Linked DNA regions of Homo sapiens: region 1 is linked to region 2. The links are contacts of gene promoters, found by promoter capture Hi-C in human tissues and cell types (Jung and others, 2019). All regions are on one chromosome and are shown on one strand. Each heading gives the region's core, a stretch centred on a gene start or on the middle of the fragment in contact. The rest is flanking DNA. Distances are from core to core; before and after follow the strand shown.

Region 1 (2,984 bases), core at 355-2,854, 910 kb before region 2:
GAAAATAAATAAAGACTATCACACTTCTTTATGTTTTCCATGTCAGCTATTCTTCATCAGCTACTACTACATTATATATTAATAATTTTTAAGAACCTGATGCTTTTTTTAACACCTAGTAGAAATGCTATAAATAGTTTATAAAAGATAATAAAGCTCTTAGAGTTTTAAAATTTATTTCAGAATAAATGATTAGTAATTACTTCTTTTTGCTTTGTAACCGAAGTTTTTGGAAACTAAAACGAGTTCTTTAATGGAAAATTTTGAATAAGACAAATTAACTGAAATTAATTCACAATATTTAACATTACTTTGTAATCTATTGCACATTCCTATTTAATTATGTCTTTTTTGTTTACTGGTCTTTACCAGTAAGATTCACTTATATGATTTTTATCTTAAGGTCATATATAGTGATGGAAGTGCCTATAGTGTATATGATGTTCCTATAGCGTAAGAAGAGCCTTATTTATCTACACAAGCAATACACTGGCCAGTATTACCTCTCGTATATAGTAACATATTATCTAAAATGAGTTACACATTTCTCCCATGTTCAAGGCACCATTCTAGAGGCCAAACATAGATAATTTAGGCGTGGTCTTTGATACTAGGAGTTTATAATAAATCAAGGGAAACAAATGTTAAGGAATTGATACATGCTGTAATAACATTTTGAGTTATGTTCTGTGGATTCACTAAGGGTATCATTAATTAAAGAAGGCCAGGAAGGCTTTCTCAGAAGGCCATATGTGAGCTGAACCTTGAGGAACAAGCAAAAAGGAGGAGTTTGATGGAAATGAAGTTTTTCAAAGTTCAGTCACTGTGGACCACATGCATGACCTATGTTAATACCTATGGTTATAGTTACTTCATATTTTCCTTCATATGATTCAAGTTTTATTAAATTTTAAATAAATGTACTTAAAAAGAAAGCACGTTAGGACTTCCACAAGTGAAAACCCAGTATCACCTGGCACAATGTAAAGGTGAAGTTGAAAAATAGATGTGTTGAAAACAGAAGAAAACATTATATTTTACATAGTTTCTGTTGCTACCAAAGACTGTTCTGCAGGTCTGCATCCCTTGTTACAAAGACAATTTAACAGAAAGAACAGGGACAAAATAGAAGAGATACAAAAAAAAAAAAAAATGCTGCTACAGACTGACTGAGTCCCCTTACAGTTCATAAGTTAAACCCCTAACCCCCCATGTGATGTTATTTAAAGATGGGATCTTTAGGAAGTAATTAATTTGGGATGAGATAATGAGGGTGGGGCCCTCGTGCTGAGATCAGTCCCTTTATAAGAGACACTTGAGTCCTCTTTCTCCCCACCCCCACTCCATATGAGGACACAGTGTAAGGGTGGCCACCTGCAAGCCAGGAAGAGAGCCCTCACCAGACCGTTCATTCTGACACCTTGATCTGGAACTTCTAGCCTCCAGAACTGGGAGAAAAAAAATGGTTGAAGCCTTTCAGTCTATGGTATTTTGTTATAATAGCCCAAGAGGACTAAGACAGATGCCAAGAAAATTGAGGAAAAAAAAATATTTTCCAAGTCGTAATACAATTTGATTTAATGCTATGTGTGTGAACATAATTATCTACCTACCAGGTCCAGCTTATGATAAATGAAATGTGTCCTACACTTTTGGAAACTCTATTTTTAAAAACGCCCTCATAAACACAGGTAGAGAGATGTGAGCAAATATGCCATGGTTGGTGGAGAACAAGTGATCTAGTGGTGCAGCAAGTAGCCTTTTAAAGCTTGAACTTGAAGGTATGTGTGGCAGATATAATGATTATATTCATACGAGCATAGGGGGATTTTTCCTGGCCTGAATTATTTAGTTTAGACAAATTTATTAGTTTCATTACTATGTAACAAATCACCACAAGCTTCGCAGCTTAAAACAACACACATTTTGTTACTCAGAGTTTCTGCAGGTCAGGAGTCTAGGCTTTAACATAACTGGATCTTCTGCTTATAGGCTTACAAGGCTGCAACCAAGACATCAACTGAACTGCATTCTCAGCTGGAACTAAGCTGGAAAAAAAAAATGTATTTCAATGCTTACTCAGGTTGTTGACAGAATTCATTCCCTTGTGGCTGAAGGGCTAAGGGTACCAGCATTTTGCTGGCCATGAGTTGAAGCTTCTCTCAGCTAGTAGCGGCTACTCACATTCCTAGAAGCCATTTTAATTCCCAGAAGCTCCCATTGTTCCTTGCCACATGGGCTTTCCCAACATAGCCTATTACTTAAGCCAGCAAGGAAGACAGTTCTTAGAGCAAGTCCCCACCAGCAAAGCAGTTATATATATATATAATATGTATGTATATATGATGTTATATATGTGATATACATTGTTATAGATAACATATATTAGTTTTGTATATGTAATATATATTATACATAACCCAATATCGTATGTGTGTGTGTGTGTGTGTGTGTGTGTGTATAATAATGTAACCATTGGAATTACTATTCTATCATCTTTTATACATTCCATTTTTTAGAGGCAAGTTACAGGTCCTGTCAACACTCAGCAAGAAGAGATTATACCAAGACATGAAAACCAGGAAGCAAGGATCATGGAGAGAATCACTGGTAACACTCTAACATGTATCTGGCACAGATGTCTGAAGCGGTTCTCTCCAACTACACACATTTAAATTCTTTTAACTTCAAGTACTAAAAAAGGAATAAATTTTAAAAATCATTGTGTTTATAAATTTGAATGTGAAGGAAAATAACAACAAATTACCCAACTCCTGATCCCAAACTTAATTCCAAAGTAGAAAATTACCAGGATATAAGTATAGCATTCATGGGTCTAGAAAGCTTTTAATAGATATGGTGCTAAAGACTCCTCCTGGATTCTGGGCAGATTGCTGCTGGTACCCATGGCTATTTGGTTACTTTGTTATTATGAGCATATGATAGCCCAATCCCGTGACTGGGGCTAAGTCTCTTCATACTTC
Region 2 (2,925 bases), core at 25-2,524:
AGAGATGACCAATAGGTCCAGAATTCAGGAAAAATCTTGAGTATTTGGAGATTAGGAGTCATCATTATAAAAATAGTATGAGAAACAGAGACCTTGGGTAAGAGCATGCAAAGAGAGAGTGTACAGTGAAAAGAAATTATCGTTTCTTTCATTTTTTTATCCACTCATCAAACTGTCACTGCGTGTCACTAGAACTACGAATAAAAAGTGACAGAATGTTTCCCAGGAGTTTGTAACTTCTTGATGGTCAAATCCAATGATCTATTTGCAATCCCAAATGTGTTTAACATAATTCCACAGTTAGGCTTTATGTCAAACGGACTATATAAAATTCAACAGTTAGTTTAAAACTAAAACTTGTGCTGGTAGTACAACATGAGCAATACTGACCATCTTGGGGACAGAATGATCTAGTTTGTGAGGACCATAATTGCTTTAAACTCTCAGCGTGTTTTCTCATGTCCTGAAAATGGTGACAAAAATATTCGATTTTCAAGGCGACTGTTGATGATTCATTTACCAATCTAAAGCACTAGTGCCCCGCACTCGTAATCCATAACTTGAGATGAACACACCAAATTATAAATATCTTATTCACCTAATCCGTGGAAAGTTTGTAACACCAAAATATTAACTTCTGTTCTTGATCACTCAGCCTCCATAGTTATTCATGTTGCATGATCTGATTCGCTCTTTTAGAATTTCTCATAGCGTCAGGTACTAGCTCAAAATAACAGGAGCAACTGCTTCTTTCCATATCCCACATTGAGGAAAACACATTTTGCAAGCCGTCTTAAAGAAACAGGTCAACTTAGTTTAGGGATGAAACTTAAAAGTAAGCTTCGTCACAAAAAACACAGTTCAACACCACCTCGCCCGGCTGCAGGCAGCTCAGAGGACAGGAAGTGAGGCCAAGACATATTTCACGCAGCACAGACTAAACCCCAGCTTTTATCTTTCCCGCTGGTCCTTAAGGGACCAACCGTACTGATTTTCCGTCATGTTCCGCGCCACTTCCGTTCGCGCACTTTAATTACGTCAGGCGTCCTCTCTCGCGGTATCATCCGGTTGCTGAGGCCCTGTAATAAAGGTCTCGCGAAATTTGTTCTAGAGGTCCAAGTTTGCTTCTTAGCTTACTCCACCCCACCCCCAACCTGTCCCTCCTTTTCTTTCCAAGTCACAAAATTCTCCCCTCCCCTACCCCGGAGTTTACGGCCCTCCTCCTGTTTCCGATTTCAGCCCGGAACCGGAAGTGTAGTGGGCGGGGCCCGTCGGCGGAAAACGCAGCGGAGCCAGAGCCGGACACGGCTGTGGCCGCTGCCTCTACCCCCGCCACGGATCGCCGGGTAGTAGGACTGCGCGGCTCCAGGCTGAGGGTCGGTCCGGAGGCGGGTGGGCGCGGGTCTCACCCGGATTGTCCGGGTGGCACCGTTCCCGGCCCCACCGGGCGCCGCGAGGGATCATGTCTACAGCCTCTGCCGCCTCCTCCTCCTCCTCGTCTTCGGCCGGTGAGATGATCGAAGCCCCTTCCCAGGTCCTCAACTTTGAAGAGATCGACTACAAGGAGATCGAGGTGGAAGAGGTGAGCGAGGCCCGGCATGGAGACGCCGGTCCCGGCCTGCCCCGCCCCCGCCTCTGCCTGGTGCCGGCTCTGAAGGTGCCTCCCGGGGCCCCTCTAATTCGCGGGACCCTGCGGGGTCCACCCGGGAGACCCCACAGCCCTCAGTAACGTGGGAGTGGGGGTTACTCTCTGAGCTCAACTGCTCGGGAGTAGCTGCCTTTTTTCCTCTCTTGGGTACTCTTGATTTTGGATTTGATATTCCGGTGATAAACAGGAGAATGAACTGGTGAGATAGTGTGGTCCACCAGTTCTCGTATCTGTAAGTAGTAGTTTCAGCGAAGATCGTAGCCGTTCTGGAGTTTCAGTCCGCTGGACGTAATGTTCTTTTTTTTTTTTTTTTTTTTTTGAGACGGAGTCTCGCTCTGTCGCCCAGGCCGGACTGCGGACTGCAGTGGCGCAATCTCGGCTCACTGCAAGCTCCGCTTCCCGGGTTCACGCCATTCTCCTGCCTCAGCCTCCCGAGTAGCTGGGACTACAGGCGCCCGCCACCGCGCCTGGCTAATTTTTTGTATTTTTAGTAGAGACGGGGTTTCACCTTGTTAGCCAGGATGGTCTCGATCTCCTGACCTCATGATCCACCCGCCTCGGCCTCCCAAAGTGCTGGGATTACAGGCGTGAGCCACCGGGCCCGGCCGGACGTAATGTTCTTAATGGCCAAAGATTGTATTATATTCGACTTCTACTTCAGTACCTGGCATGTAGGGGATGCTCAATAAATGCTTGTTAAATTAGTAGATCATCAAGTCTAATAAAGTGTTTCCCTTAGCACCGAATGGTTCTCAATTTCTCCGATACCGCACAGCAATACTCGTAATGTTTAAATGCTCGGCTTTCAGTTGGGCTAATGTAGGTGAATTTCACCATAAGTAACATAGACTGGTCTACGATCAAAAGATGTTTCAAGTAGCATATTCTGAAGAGATAACGAATGATTTCGGTGACAATCAGAATATAATATTAGACTAGAAATCGCTATCAGAAAACCCATATCCTTTCTTTATTCTGCAGTAATTTATTTTAGAACAAGATATTTCAAAGTGACTTTAAAGCGTCGTTTTTCAAATTAACAGGTAAATTGGGTTCTAATGACTATAAAATTTAGAAAAGTAAAAACTGCATATATATTTTTTAAAGACACTTTAGAACTTGTTAAAAACTTTGGTTGAAAATACTATCTCTTACCATTTATTTGCCATTTTTTAAATTTATTAAGCACTTTGCGTTATATAGTCCATGAAAAACCTAGTGAAATATTATAGATTGTCAACGAGTTATGTCTACTTTAAAATTCTAAAATTATTTTT

The links. The method cuts DNA at HindIII sites, captures the fragments that hold promoters and counts their contacts. A contact is called where the count stands out against the background at its distance.
Region 1: a contact is called between a fragment that was not itself captured here and the fragment with the promoter of MAP3K7 in region 2, in 1 of the 25 tissues and cell types used here (mesendoderm cells).

Annotation. Positions count from the first base shown.
Region 1 is chr6:91,497,934-91,500,917 of GRCh38, reverse strand. No RefSeq gene overlaps it. Among named protein-coding and RNA genes, the nearest start is that of MIR4643, 22 kb to the left of the region's middle. The HindIII fragment of the contact is 5,415 bases long and covers 1-2,984 here.
Region 2 is chr6:90,585,421-90,588,345 of GRCh38, reverse strand. It overlaps MAP3K7 (mitogen-activated protein kinase kinase kinase 7), which reads left to right and starts at 1,274. Exons shown (of 17, transcript NM_145331.3): 1 at 1,274-1,582. The coding sequence starts at 1,463. It overlaps LOC124901363 (a long non-coding RNA gene), which reads right to left and starts at 1,552. Exons shown (of 2, transcript XR_007059680.1): 1 at 391-1,552. RefSeq lists silencers at 1,142-1,338, 1,335-1,454. The HindIII fragment of the contact is 6,191 bases long and covers 1-2,925 here.